2 separate regions of the Homo sapiens genome follow, and region 1 is linked to region 2. The links are contacts of gene promoters, found by promoter capture Hi-C in blood cells and fetal thymus (Javierre and others, 2016). All regions are on one chromosome and are shown on one strand. The core of a region is centred on a gene start or on the middle of the fragment in contact, and the rest is flanking DNA. Distances in the headings are between cores, read along the strand shown.

Evidence for each region. Contacts are between HindIII fragments. The CHiCAGO score rates a contact against its expected background, and 5 or more counts as called.
Region 1: a contact is called between a fragment that was not itself captured here and the fragment with the promoter of NOL6 in region 2, in 2 of 17 cell types (naive B cells and naive CD8 T cells). The highest score is 6.1, in naive B cells.

Annotation. Positions count from the first base shown.
Region 1 is chr9:33,027,091-33,034,146 of GRCh38, forward strand. It overlaps DNAJA1 (DnaJ heat shock protein family (Hsp40) member A1), which reads left to right. Exons shown (of 9, transcript NM_001539.4): 4 at 2,795-2,899; 5 at 3,350-3,577. Among named protein-coding and RNA genes, the nearest start is that of DNAJA1, 5.3 kb to the left of the region's middle. The HindIII fragment of the contact is 755 bases long and covers 1,668-2,422 here.
Region 2 is chr9:33,471,218-33,477,988 of GRCh38, forward strand. NOL6 (nucleolar protein 6) reads right to left here and starts at 2,707. Exons shown (of 26, transcript NM_022917.5): 1 at 2,572-2,707; 2 at 989-1,195; 3 at 787-903. The coding sequence starts at 2,625. It overlaps LOC107987061 (a long non-coding RNA gene), which reads left to right and starts at 2,923. Exons shown (of 3, transcript XR_001746648.3): 1 at 2,923-2,980. RefSeq lists an enhancer at 2,319-2,658. The HindIII fragment of the contact is 3,045 bases long and covers 1,284-4,328 here.

The DNA of each region.
Region 1 (7,056 bases), core at 795-3,294, 440 kb before region 2:
TATAATGTTGCAAACTGACCACAAATTGCCTCTGATTTATGGTGTCGTGTTTTTTTGTTGTGGTTTTTTTTTTTTTTTTCTTGAGACGGAGTTTCCCTCTTATTGCCCAGGCTGGAGAGCCATGGCGTGGTCTCAGCTCACAGCAACCTCCACCTCCCGGGTTCAAGCGATTCTCCTGCCTCAGCCTCCCAAGTAGCTGGGATTACAGGCATGTGCCACCAAACCCGGCTAATTTTGTATTTTTAGTAGAGATGGGGTTTCACCATGTTGGTCACGCTGGTCTTGAACTGCAAACCTCAGGTGGTGATCCACCTGCCTTGGCCTCCCAGAGTGCTGGGATTACAGGTGTGAGCCACCATGCCCAGCCAGTGGTGTCGCTTTTTTTAAAATGAGATTTAAGGGGCCTAAAAAATAGCCAACAGAGTGGTAGCAAATGACTGCTTCCAAAAATCTTAGATATTATCAAACAAATTATGAGAACAGGCCGCGTGCTGTGGCTCATTCTGTAATCCCAGCACTTTGGGAGGCCGAGGTGGGTGGATCACTGAGGTCAGGGTTCGAGACCAGCCTGGCCAAGATGGTGAAACCCCATCTCTACAAAACTACAGAATTAGCTGGGCGTGGTGGTGGGCATCTGCAATCCCAGCTCCTCTGGAGGCTGAGGCAGGAGAATCGCTTGAACCCTGGAGGCAGAGGTTGCAGCGAACGGAGGTCACGCCACTGCACTCCAGCCTGGGCAACAAGAGTGAATCTCTGTCACAAAAAACCCAAAAAAATCCAAAAATTAGCCAGGCATGGTGGTGCGTGCCTGTAATCCCAGTTACTCAGGAGGGCTGAAGCAGGAGAGTCGCTTGAACCCGGGAGGTGGAGGTTGCAGTGAGCTGAGATCGCCCAATTACACTCCAGCCTGAGCAACACAGCGAGACTCTTGTCTCAAAAAAAAAAAAAAAAAAAAAAAAAGACAAAGTATATAGCAATATAATTTTCCAAGCCCTTTTTACAGATCTTATTTGGTGTTCCCTCACTCCCCAAAGGAATTTGATGGTAGGTACAGTGGCCTTTTTCAAATGGGAGTAAGTTAAAGTTCAGAAACCTAAAACTTCTTCAAGCTCATATAGCAAGCCAACAGAGCCAGGGCTGAAAACTGGTTCGTTGCCTGCCATCTATCTATTCTTGTTTCAGCTTTATTGTGTCAAAATTATGTATTTAATATGTTTATCAGGAAAGTGGCCTATGGGCTCTAGAAATACTGCTTATAGGAGTAAAATGTTCAAGAGAAATCAGTCTCACTTTATTTCCAGTATAGTGTATACAAATAAGGGCTGATGAGCAGAACCAGTTTTAGAATGAATGGCCAAGCCATTAAATTTCACTTTGAGCTTCTTAAGGTTCAGAAAGATTTGGGAAATTGTTTATTCAGTTTTTCTTTAAAGATCTTCAAGGAAAGGATTATGTTTTTATTAAGATACTTAAACTCCTTAAAAAGAAAGTCCACAATCCAAATGACTTGCTTAGTAAATTGTTAGAATTTGTCCACAAAAAAGTAGTGGTGGTTTTTCACTTACCTTACAAAGAACCTGCAGGTTAACATTGGCAAGCTCTTTTATGTGGCTTATGATCATATTGAGAGGTTATTTCTGGGGAAATGCGCTTCATCAAGCTCTAGAAGCTTTATTTTTCCTTCCTTATACTCAACACTGTTCAAAATAAGGGCAGCTAGATTTTAGCGTGCCAAAACTAAAGGTGGAACTATAAGCAGAAGGACATAATTAATGGTATTTCATGCTTGATTAGAAAGTTAAAATGTTCATTAGGCATATTGTACAGAAACGAGTTTGAGAACTTTTTTCAGTTGGTGGAAAGGCAATAATATTGTTGTGAATAAGTCCTTGTGGAAGGACCACTAGTTAGGAACTTACTAACTTACTAGCAGGTGACTTCATACTTCTAACCTCAGTGTCCTTATGAGATCTTGACCTTCCATTTCCTATTCTGATTTAAGTGAAGTAAGGCACTCCTTAGTAGCCACTGGCCATGTGTGGCTCCATTAATTTAAGACAAAAACAAAAATACGGTTTCTTAGTCTAAATGGCCACATTTACATGCTCAATAAGCACATGTGATTGGTGGCTGCTACGTTGGACAGAACAGATATAAAACATTTATCACTGCAGAAAGTTCTGTTGGGCAATGCTATTATAAAAGGTATGAGAAATTTGGCCTTCAAAACAACCAGTGCTGGCCCAGCAGTAAATGGGCTGTTTTCTACTAAATCAGGAAGAAGTAGAAATTGATACTCTTCTGTGGTGACTCAATAAATACATCAGCTTCCCTGGCCAATCTTGATTAATGAGAATTTACTGTGCTACAGAATTTTTGGATGAAGTAATTGGCCATGTTGCTCAATACGGTACGAAGTGAAAGCTTCAAAAAATATATTGTGACAGAAATGAATGTTTGGATTATTGTGAAATGTGCCCTTTTAAATAACATTGGTTTTTCTCAAGTGACTTTGAAGGTAATGCTTTTGCTTACCATATTTCCAAGATGGCCACGTCTGTGCCCTTAAGCAAATATTTAATCTCTGACCTGATTTTCCCTCATCTGTGATTACATCACAGTTTGAGGATCATCTGTGATAACGTGAACATTCTGTGTATATAGTAGGTAGTCAACAGATGTACCCTGTGAGGCTCATCTTTTATTATTCTTTGCCACATTCTTTATAGTGCCTTTAGCACAAATAAGATCCAGCATCTTAAACAGATTTGCAATGAGAAATATTTTGTTTTAGGTAAAAATGTTGTACATCAGCTCTCAGTAACCCTAGAAGACTTATATAATGGTGCAACAAGAAAACTGGCTCTGCAAAAGAATGTGATTTGTGACAAATGTGAAGGTACGGTGTTTTTTTGTTTTGTTTTGTTTTGTTTTTAAGCACCTTTAATATGACACCTGAAAATGGAGCTAAGACTTCTAGATAGATATGTAAAATTGATTCATGTACACTACCTAGATTTTGGGGGAGGAGAGGGCAGATATGAAGAAAACCAACTGAAAACCTCCCACCTAAAGAAATATCAGCACTTTTTTCTGTGTATATTTTAAATACAGTTGGGATCAAGCTAGTTTGGTATCTTTTTTGTAATAAGTAAAATTTATTGGAAAGTGTGTTCTAATAAGAATGAAACTCATTGGAATGATCTCATCAGTTGTACATTCAGAGGGTAGCATTCCATCAGGCTTCGAAAATATTAAAAGTATAGCATTTAGGAATTGTCTTCTTAAAACATTTACTACTGTATACACTACTAATTCATACATTATTTAATTTTCTTTTTAAATTTAGGTAGAGGAGGTAAGAAAGGAGCAGTAGAGTGCTGTCCCAATTGCCGAGGTACTGGAATGCAAATAAGAATTCATCAGATAGGACCTGGAATGGTTCAGCAAATTCAGTCTGTGTGCATGGAGTGCCAGGGCCATGGGGAGCGGATCAGTCCTAAAGATAGATGTAAAAGCTGCAACGGAAGGAAGATAGTTCGAGAGAAGAAAATTTTAGAAGTTCATATTGACAAAGGTGAGTTCTGAGTTACTTATTCTGAAGTCTTGAATGCTGTGGCAGATTTATTATTAACATTTTATAATTGTTTAAAAATCATTCTTAATTAGGTTATATATGATCCTATCAATCAGAAATAACTCTTAGCAGCTTAGTAAATAATGTTCTTTTATCCAGACATAATTTTGCACATTGGTATATTACTAATACAGAATATATTAGGAATCTCCTCATTTAATATAACAGGATCATCTTTTGAAATCTGTGGTCCTGTAAATGATTGAATAGTGTTCCAAACTTAATTCTCTCCTGTTAAACCATAGTTCTTCCATCTTTTAAAACATTAGAATTGTACACATTCTTAATTAGGAGTTACTAGATCAAGGGATAGGCATACTTTTAAGGATTTGAAAGGGGAGTTAGGTGAAGAATTGGGTCTCATAAAAATTCATGGTTTTTTTGGAGACGGAGTTTCGCTCTTGTTTCCCAGGCTGGAGTGTGCAATGGCACGATCTCAGCTCATTGCAACCTCTGCCTCCCGGGTTCAAGCAGTTCTTCTGCCTCAGCCTCCCAAGTACCTGGGATTACAGGCACCCAGCACCATGCCCGGCTAATGTTTTGTATTTTTAGTAGAGACGGGGTTTCACCATGTTGGCCAGGCTGATCTCGAACACTTGACCTCAGGTGATGACCTGCCTCGGCCTCCCAAAGTGCTGGGATTACAGGCATGAGCTACCGCACCCCGCCTCATGTTTATTTTTTAAACCAATGGGCATGTTTTTGTTTGTTTGTTTTTTTCTGAGGTAGAGTCTTGCTCTGTTGCCCAGGCTTGAGTGCAGTGATGCGATCTTGGCTCACTCTAACCTCTGCCTCCTGGGTTCAAGCGATTCTCCTGCCCCAGCTTCCCAGGTAGCTGGGACTACAGGTGTGCACCACCACACCTGGCTAATTTTTTTTGTATTTTTAGTAGAGATGGGGTTTCACCATGTTAGGCTGGTCTCAAACTCTTGACCTCAAATGATCTGCCTGCCTTGGCCTCCTAAAATGCTGGGATTACAGGTGTGTGCCACCATACCTGGCCTGGGCTAGTTTAAATAAGCGTATTGGCCCACTTAATTGGCTTACTTGCCCATCTATTATATTTAAATGCTCCGTTAATTGATTTGATAGACTACCTTTCATTTTTTTAGACTTGACACTTCCCTAACCCATTGGGCTCCAGATTTAGAAATAACTATATAACCTTTTTTTTGTATTCTCGGGATTTGATTGATTTGTCAATTTTTAAATTTTACTCTTGTCAACTTGCAAAAACATTTTAAAATGTATTACAGCAATACACTGCAGAAATTTTAAGAAATGTATATAACCCCAGAAGGAAACTTAAGTCAACATTATGGTAATCTCTTTTCAGATTTTGCTGTTTATAAATGGGTCTACTATTATACTGTACTGTGGTATGATACCAATCTGGAACTGTTAATATTTGAACATATTTCCATATTAATATACAAATCTACATTAACATAAGTGGCTGCAATAGGATTCTATCATGTGACTCATGATACTGGCCTCTCTGACCCCCAGGGTTCCACCCAAGAATGTAGTACATTGAAAGGTAAAAATAAGTTTCCTTGGCCAGTTGTTGAACTTAATAAATCTGTGTTTACCCCTTAGTGGGCCCATGCCTAAGGTTTATACTTTGAGGTGTTCTTGATACCAATAGCATACAGAGTAAGTCTTAACGTTGTTGATAGGTTCTTGGAAACTGGGACTTCTAGCAGAATGACCTCAAATAATGTCATGCAGGTCCTCAAATAATGTCATGTCACTGTAACACAGCTGAGGGGAAAAAAATTGGTCTTGTTATGTGTCATTTCATTTAAAGCAATTTCCAAGAACCTATCAACAATGGACTGTAAGTGAGAACTTGAAATTAATGCCCTAACTATATAGCAAGTGAAGGCATTTGTGCTGTGCCTACTCTTACTCTGTATTCAGGAAAACCTAGCTGAGTTTAATTGCTTCCCTAGCATAACAAGTTATTTTGCCTCAATACACGATTAAAGACAGATTGTTTAATTTTGTCAGTGTATGATACTGATAGCGCTTTAAGTCCTTATTTAAGAGGTACGTACTGAAGTATTTGTGGGTTAATGGATATAGTTGGAGTTTGCTTGAAAGTATATGTGGGGGGCATGCGTAGGGGTGTAATACATGAAATATTAGTCATGAGTTAGTAACTGCTGAAGCCAAATTGGATGGATATGTAGGAATTCATTGTACTGTTGGCTCTGTTTATACAGGATTAATATTTTCCATACGTAAAGGTGAAACATGATTGCTCTGTTAGGTAACCAGAGTGATCTTGGGAAATAATCAGGAGATAACTGCTTTGGTGTAATACTCTACAAACACAGGTTTTCTTACATGAGTTATGTTCTAAGAGACGTTGCCCAAACCCTTACTGAACTAAAATATGTGGGTCAGAGGTGAGGGGCACGAAGTCTCAGTTTAAAAAAAAAAAAAAAGGCGTGTTTTTTTGCCCTGTTAGAAAATACTCCTCCCCTTGTATTTTACGGACCACATGGGCTAAGGGAGTGTCTAGCACTGATTGTTTTGTTTGCTTGTTTAATTTAAATGAGACAAGGTCTGGAACTCCTGTGCTCCAGGGTGCTATCCTCAGGGTATCCTCCTGACTCGGCCTCTCAAAGTATAATTACCCTTTTTTTAAGGGGACTATACTGAATAGTTCTTTAAAATACGGATTTTCAGGCACAGGGGCTCAGGTCTGTAATCCGAACACTATAGGATGCCGAGGCAGGATCCCTTGAGCCCAGTAGTTCAAGACCAGCCTGAGCGACATGAGAACCCCCATCTCTATTAAAAAAAAAAAAATTCAAAAATTAGCTGGTCTGTGGTCCTGGCTACTCGGGAGGCTGAGGTGGGAGGATCACTTGAGCCCAGGAGATGGAGGCTGCAGTGAGCCATGTTTGTGCCACTGCACTCCAGCCTAGGCAACAGAGCAAGATCCTATCTCAAGAGAAGATTATAGATTTAAAATTTTTTTAGTTTTATATATAAATACTACAATAGAAGGGTCTTGATTTACATTGCTGTTAGACTTTTAATAGAAGTAATTTGATGTGTTATAAGTAATGAAACTGAAATACTTAATTAACATTTTTTGGTTATAACCAGTGTTAGCCAGTCATGGTTTAGTACCAGCATATACCTGTTGAGTTAATACTCTAAATATTGCTAATGAGGTGTAGGTGTCTGTGGGAAAGTTGAAACTTGGAAAGGATATGCAGCTTACTTCCCCAGGGTAATCCAGCCAGTGAATAGCAGCTCTGAGATTTGAAGGCTAGTCTCTTTGCCTCTGGAGTTTGTGTTCTCCACTATGATACCTTTCTTCAGGAGCAAATTGGACTGAACTACTTAAGTGGGCTTTCTTAGTCATTTCTGTGATTTTTATGCATAAACAAACATCTATG
Region 2 (6,771 bases), core at 1,457-3,956:
GCGCCATTGCACTCCAGTGTGGAGGACAAGAGCGAGACTTCGTCTCAAAAACAAAAACAAAAACGTGAACTTTTAAAAGTTAGAGGGCATCACTGTTCTGCAAAATAAAATCCAGCAGTGGCTCCCCATCTCACCCAGAGCAACAGCCAAAGTCCCTACTTCGGGACACAATGCCCTGCATGATATGCTACTTTTCCCCATCACCTTTCTGAACTCATCTCCTTCTGTATTCCTCATTCATTCCAAGGAATGTAACTGGAACATTCCTGCCTTTGTGCCTTTGTACTGGCTGTTCCCCCTTCCTGGAATGCTTTTATTCCCTTAGATATCTATATAGCTGACTCACCTACTTCAAGTCTTTACACAAATGTCACTTCAATAAGGCCTACTTTGTGAACACCCCCTTTAAACTTGTAAACCACTCCCATCCTCTAATACTCCCAATCCCCTTACATTGCTCGTCCTACTTTTTCCTTTTTCCAGTGTTTACCACATTCTAACATTGCCATAGAGTTTACCTGTTATGCTTATCTATTAACTATAACCTCAGCATTACAGCATAGGCTATTATTTACTGATATATCCTAAGAACACAAATACTGCAAGGCATGGAAGTACTTGCTGAATGAATACACAAATGACCACGCTCCCAGCTAAGCTTCCTTGCTGTGAGAATGAGCTCCCTGCACCCCAACCCTTAAACAGAGTAACAGCAAGGCCCCTGTTTGATATACCCCCACTGGAGGTCTCTCTTGGGCTTCCCAGTTCCCCAGGCCACTTGCTTACCTCTGTCTCAGGGACTGAGGGCACCCTCACAACCCGCTGGTTGACCTCCCGTAGGAAGGCATCAATCCGATCCTTCTTCTTCTCTGACAGCCTTACTTCCTTTAGTAGCTCCTCTACCTGTAAGAGAGGGTAGAAGACAGTCCATCAGCCTCAGGGTCCCAGGTACACACCTCGAACAAAAGCTGCAGACACTCAACAGTACCTGTAAACGAAGCAAGCTGGAGTGGAACAAGATCTCAGTCTCCCGAAGGCGATTAAGCTCCTCATTGGTAGGCTCCTTGTACAGTTCTGCCCTGCTGAGCTTCACTGGCTGCAGGAGGCCCTTCGCTGGAGGTTCAGCCAATGTACGCTTCCTGGAGGATGCTTTCTTCCCCTCTTTGCCTGTGCCTTCCAGGGCTGGTTCCATCACCTGTGGCCAGTGAGGGAGAAGCCATTTTGAGGTAATAGGTATCTAGCATCTGCTGCCTAAAGTGCCACCATGATAGGTTGTGGGTAAAAGCTTCACCTGCTCTGTCCCTCTTTTGAGTAGGAGTCAGATTTTGTAAAACTCAGGAGAATCGTTACTTGGATGAACATCACTGAGCGCTGAGCCGAAAATTCCTTGAGTTAAGAGCTCTCCTGTCTACCTGACACCACAAGCATGGAGCTCTGTTTGGAATTGGTAGTGATAGAAGCTGACTGGGCCCAGGCTGGACACGGTGGCTGACGCCTGTAATCCCAGCAGTTTGGGAGGTGGAGCTGGGCGGATCAGCTGAAGTCAGGAGTTCGAAATCAGCCTGGCCAACATGGGGAAACTCCGTCTCTATTAAAAATACAAAAATTAGCCAGGTGTGGTGGCACATGCCTGTAATCTCAGCTACGCGGGAGACTGAGGCAGGAAAATCACTTGAACCCAGGAGGCAGAGGCTGAAGTGAGCCGAGATCGTGCCATTGCATTCTAGCCTGGGCAACAGAGCAAGACTGTCAAAAAAAAAAAAAAAAAAAAGAAGCTGACTGAGCCCTGCCCTAAGTAATGCCCAGGCCCCTTGTATTTTCAGGAAGTTTCCTCTTCTGCTGATATAGGCCTGGGACTTCTCAAATGTCTTTCCCATTCTCGCTCCAACCAAATCCTGCCAGGTTCCACCTCCTCTAGGAAGACCTGACTGCCTCAGTTTACACTAAATACTCACTGATGGAAGGAGCTAGAACCGACTGGACCCCAGAGGACACATTTAGCAAGTCATTAAATCCTCAAAATAATTCTTGAAGACACTTGAAGTCCCACTATTCACTCGAGGTTCCACAACTGGTACACCCGTACTATGAGCAGGCTTCAAAGGCAAGCGTGCAGGATCCCAAACCTTTTCCCCTACAGCCGTGGGCCCATCCGCTCCACGATGCCTCTCATCCCAGAGAGCCTTACTGGAGCGCTCCAGGAGAGGCACCGTATGCCCTCCGCTACAGCGGGGAGCACAGAACTGGACACAAATTCTGTGGAGGAAGATCCCGCTTATCGTCAAGGACCACCAAATAAAAGAAACGACCCAAGTGTGGGTCTCTTCAACTTTGAGGTGCAGAGCTCCAGAAGAGAGCAGAGGCTCTACCGGCTTCACTGCTTCTAACCAAATACTGCCAGGTTCCATCACCCCTAGCAAGCCCTGTCTCAGTGCCACTGGCTGGAAACATCCTCCAGAATGGGCCGCCGGCATGGCTTTCACCCGCAAGCTGTCAGATCACGCCATCTCGGGCCCTGCAGCCAAGGGAGCGCACATTGAGCCTCTGTTCCTCCCCGATGGCTCAACCCACCTCTGGCTCTCCAGTCGCTCCGCGAAGCTGCTCTCCAGCTGGCGCCGGCCCCATCACTCAGGGTCCAGCACTCTCCCGCACTTCAGATTCTAGCCGGGTCTATACCTCATAGCTTCCCACGTGGGCGGAAATGCCTAACTCCAGGCCCAAGTCCAGCCCACCCCAATTCCTCAGGACTCCACCCACTCCAGAGCTATTGGATTATCAGTCGATTACTCGCTTGCCATTGGCCGGGCAGTCTCAAGGCCCGCCCATTAGGGGAGGGGACAAACGGGTTTCTGTGCTTTACGGCCTCTTCGCGACGCTAGAACGGAAGCCTGCCCGTAGCTAGGCCTTTGCTTTCTTTTCCTCACTTCCTTCGCGTGGCTGCAATCGGGAAGGGCGGAGCTAGTTTGTTCCTTTTGGTCAGGTTTGTTTACAGCAGTTATTCCTCCCTTTTTCTTTATTTGCTACACCTTATCAGTTAACAAATCTTGTCAGTTCTACCTCCAAAACATACCTTGAATTTATTCATTTTTCTGTGTCTTCACTGCCAGGTTTAGCCCGTCACATCATCTTGTTCCCGAATTATTGTTATGACTTTTCTCCAGTTTTTACTTATTACTTAGCTTATTACAATTTCAAGTAATTTAGTTATTTTTATTTATTTATTTATTTATTTATTTATTTATTTATTTATTTATTTTTGGAGTAGTCTTGCTCTGTCGCCCAGGCTGGAGTGCAGTGGCACGATCTCAGCTCCCTGCATCCTCCCTCTCCCAGGCTCAAGCGATTCTCGTGCCTCAGCCTCCTGAGGAGCTGGGATTACAGGCAGGTACCATCACACCCGTCTAATTTTTGTATTTTCACTAGAGATGGGGTTTCCTCATGTTGCCTAGGCTGGTCTCAAACTCCTGACTGCCAGTGACCCGCCCACCTTGGCCTCCCGAAATGCTGGGATTACAGGCCTGAGCCACTGCTCCCGGCCTATTTTTAAACTATTAAAAATTTAAAACAAATGTTGCAAGAATAATATAATGAATGCGCATATACTCTTCACCTAGATTCACTTAGTGTTACTATTTTGCCAAGTTTATCTTTACCTATGTATTTACATATTATTTTGCAAAACCATTTGAAAACCAATCACACATCTCCCTAAATACTTAGGTATGTATCTACTAAGATCAAGGACTACCTCTTATGTAAGCACAGCCCGATTATGAAATTAAGGAAATTTAATCGTGATTCAATACTAGTATACAAATTCCATCTTTAAATTTTGTCAGTTATTCCAGTAATAACCGTTATATGTTTCATTTTATTTCCTAATGCAGGATCATCTAAATTCAACTATTACCATATAATATATATATATATATATATATATATATATATATATATATTTTTTTTTTTTTTTTTTTTTTTTTTTTTTGAGAGAGAGTGAGTGTCCCTCTGTTGCCCAGGCTAGAGTGCAGTGGGTCGATCTCAGCTTACTGCAACATCCACCTCCTGGTTCAATTGATTATTGTGGCTCAGCTTCCCAAGTAGCTGGGATTACAGGCATGCGCCAACACACCAGGCCAATTTTTGTATTTTTAGTAGAGACAGAGTTTCACCATGATGGCCAGCCTGATCTCAAACTCTGGCCTCAAGTGATCTGCCCTCCTCAGTCTCCCAAAATGCTGGGATTACAGGGGTGAGCCACCGTGCCCAGTCTAAAAATTTGTATTGAAGTACAATATACATAAGGAAAAATGTACATATCCCAAGTGTAAAGCTTGAATACTAACAAACCAAACATACTCATATAGTCAGCTCCCAGAAAATAAGCAGAACATTTCCTGCACCTTCAGAATCTCCCCTCATGCTGCCCTCTAGTAACTCTGCCCCCAACAATCACTATTCTGACTTCAAACAGTGCAGGTCAGTTTATACAATAGCTTTTTTATTATTTATTATTTATTTATTTATTTATTTTTTGAGACAGAGTCTCACTCTGTCGCCCAGGCCGGAGTGCAGTGGCACGATCTCGGCTCACTGCAAGCTCCACCTCCCGGGTTCAAGTGATTCTCCTGCCTCAGCCTGCCAAGTAGCTGGGACTACAGGCGCCCGCCACCACGCCCGGCTAATTTTTTGTATTTTTTAGTAGAGACGGGGTTTCACCGTGTTAGCCAGGATGGTCTTGATCTCCTGACCTCATGATCCACCCGCCTTGGCCTCTGAAAGTGCTAGGATTACAGGCGTGAGCCACCGCGCCCGGCTATGCGATAGCTTTTTAAGGAAGTTTCAGAAGAGCGGTATGTCCATTTTCAATTCATTTTCCACACAGCTGCCAGAATTAGTTTTCTAAAATAGAAATTCTATCATGTCACTTCCTTTTAAAAACTCATCAGTGTCTTCCAATTGTACTTAAAACTAAACACAAACTTCAACTTCCATAAAGTCATGATCAATATGGCCCTTCACTTGCTATTCCTTCTTTTTATTTTATTTTATTTTTTTTTTTTTGCGACAGAGTCTTGCTCTGTCACCCAGGCTGGAGTGCAGAGGTGCAATCTTAGATCACTGCAACCTCCGCCTCCCAGATTCAAGCGATTCTCTTGCCTCAGCCTCCCTAGTAGAGTAGCTGGGACTACAGGCACATGCCACCACACCCGGCTAATTTTTGTATTTTTAGTAAAGACAAGGTTTCACCATGTTGGCTAGGCTGGTCTCAAACTCCTGACCTCAAGTGATCCGCTCACCTCAGCCTCCAAAAGTGCTGGGATTACAGGGGTGAGCCACCTTGCCCAGCTATTCCATCTTTTTTGTGGGAGAAGAGGGGCAAGTTCTCGCTCTGTTGCCTAGGCTAGAATACAGTGGTGGAATCACACCTCAGCCTCCTGAGTAATTGAGACTACACACGCGCACCACCATGCCTGGCTAATTTCTGTATTTCTGTGTAGACTTTTGCCATGTTGCCCAGGCTGGTTTCAAACTCCTGAGCGCAAGGAATCTGCCGGCCTCGGCCTTCGAAAATGCTGGGATTACAGGCATCGGCCACTGCCTGGCCCTCATCATTTTTCTTGCTACTCCACCCCTGGTTCCCTGAGCTACAGCAACATCAGCTTTCTTTCAGTTCCTTCGTTGTATTAAGTTCTTTCCTAACTCCGGGACTTCACCCAAGCTGTTTGTTCCATTTGGAATTTTGCTTTCTTGGCTTTTTCTCCTTTTCATCTTTCACCTCTCAGCATAAATATCACCTCTGGACTCAAACCATCCTCCCACCCCAGCTTCCTGGCTAGCTGGGACCACAGGCGTGCACCACACACTCGACTAATTTTTTGTAGAGACAGGATTTCACCATGTTGCCCAGGCTGGTCTCAAATTCCTGGACTCAAGTGATCCTCCCACCTTGGCCTCCCGAAGTGCTAGGATTACAGGCTTGAGCCACTGTGCCCGGCCAAGGTCTTAACTAAAGTCCTAAAATATGTTCTCTAAACAAATATAGATATGTTTTCTTTCTTTTTTTTTTTTTTTTTTTGAGATGGAGTCTTTCTCTGTCACGCAGGCTGCAGTGCAGTGGCAAGATCTCAGCTTACTGCAACTTCCACCTCCCAAGTTTAAGTGATTCTCCTGCCTCAGCCTCTGGAGTAGCTGGGATGACAGCCACATACCACCACACCTGGCTAATTTTTGCATTTTTAGTAGAGTAGGCCACCATGTTGGCCAGACTGGTCTTGAACCCCTGTCCTCAAGTGATCTGCCCTCCTCTGCCTCCCAGAGTACTGGGATTACAGGCGTGAGCCACCACGCCCAGGCTGTTATGTTTTCTCTTTCTTTCTCCCTCCCTCCCTCCCACCCTCCTTCCTTTATTTTCTTTTTTCTTTTTTTTTTTTTTTTTTTTTTCTGAGACAGAGTGTTGCCCTGTCGCCCAGGCTGGAGTGCAGTGGCAAGATCTCAGCTTACTGCAACCTCTTCCACCTCCGGGGTTCAAGCAATTCTCATGCCTCAGCCTCCCGAGTAGCTGGGACTACAGGTGCACACCACCTCGCCTGGCTAATTTTTTGTATTTTAGTAGAGACAGGGTTTCACCATGTTCCCCAGGCTGGTCTTGGACTCCGAACTCAGGCAATCAGCCCACCTTAACCTCCCCAAGTGCTAGGATAACAGGCGTGACCGACCACGCCCGGCCTGGCCAATATGTTTTCTAAAACGTTTCTCTTATATCATCCATTT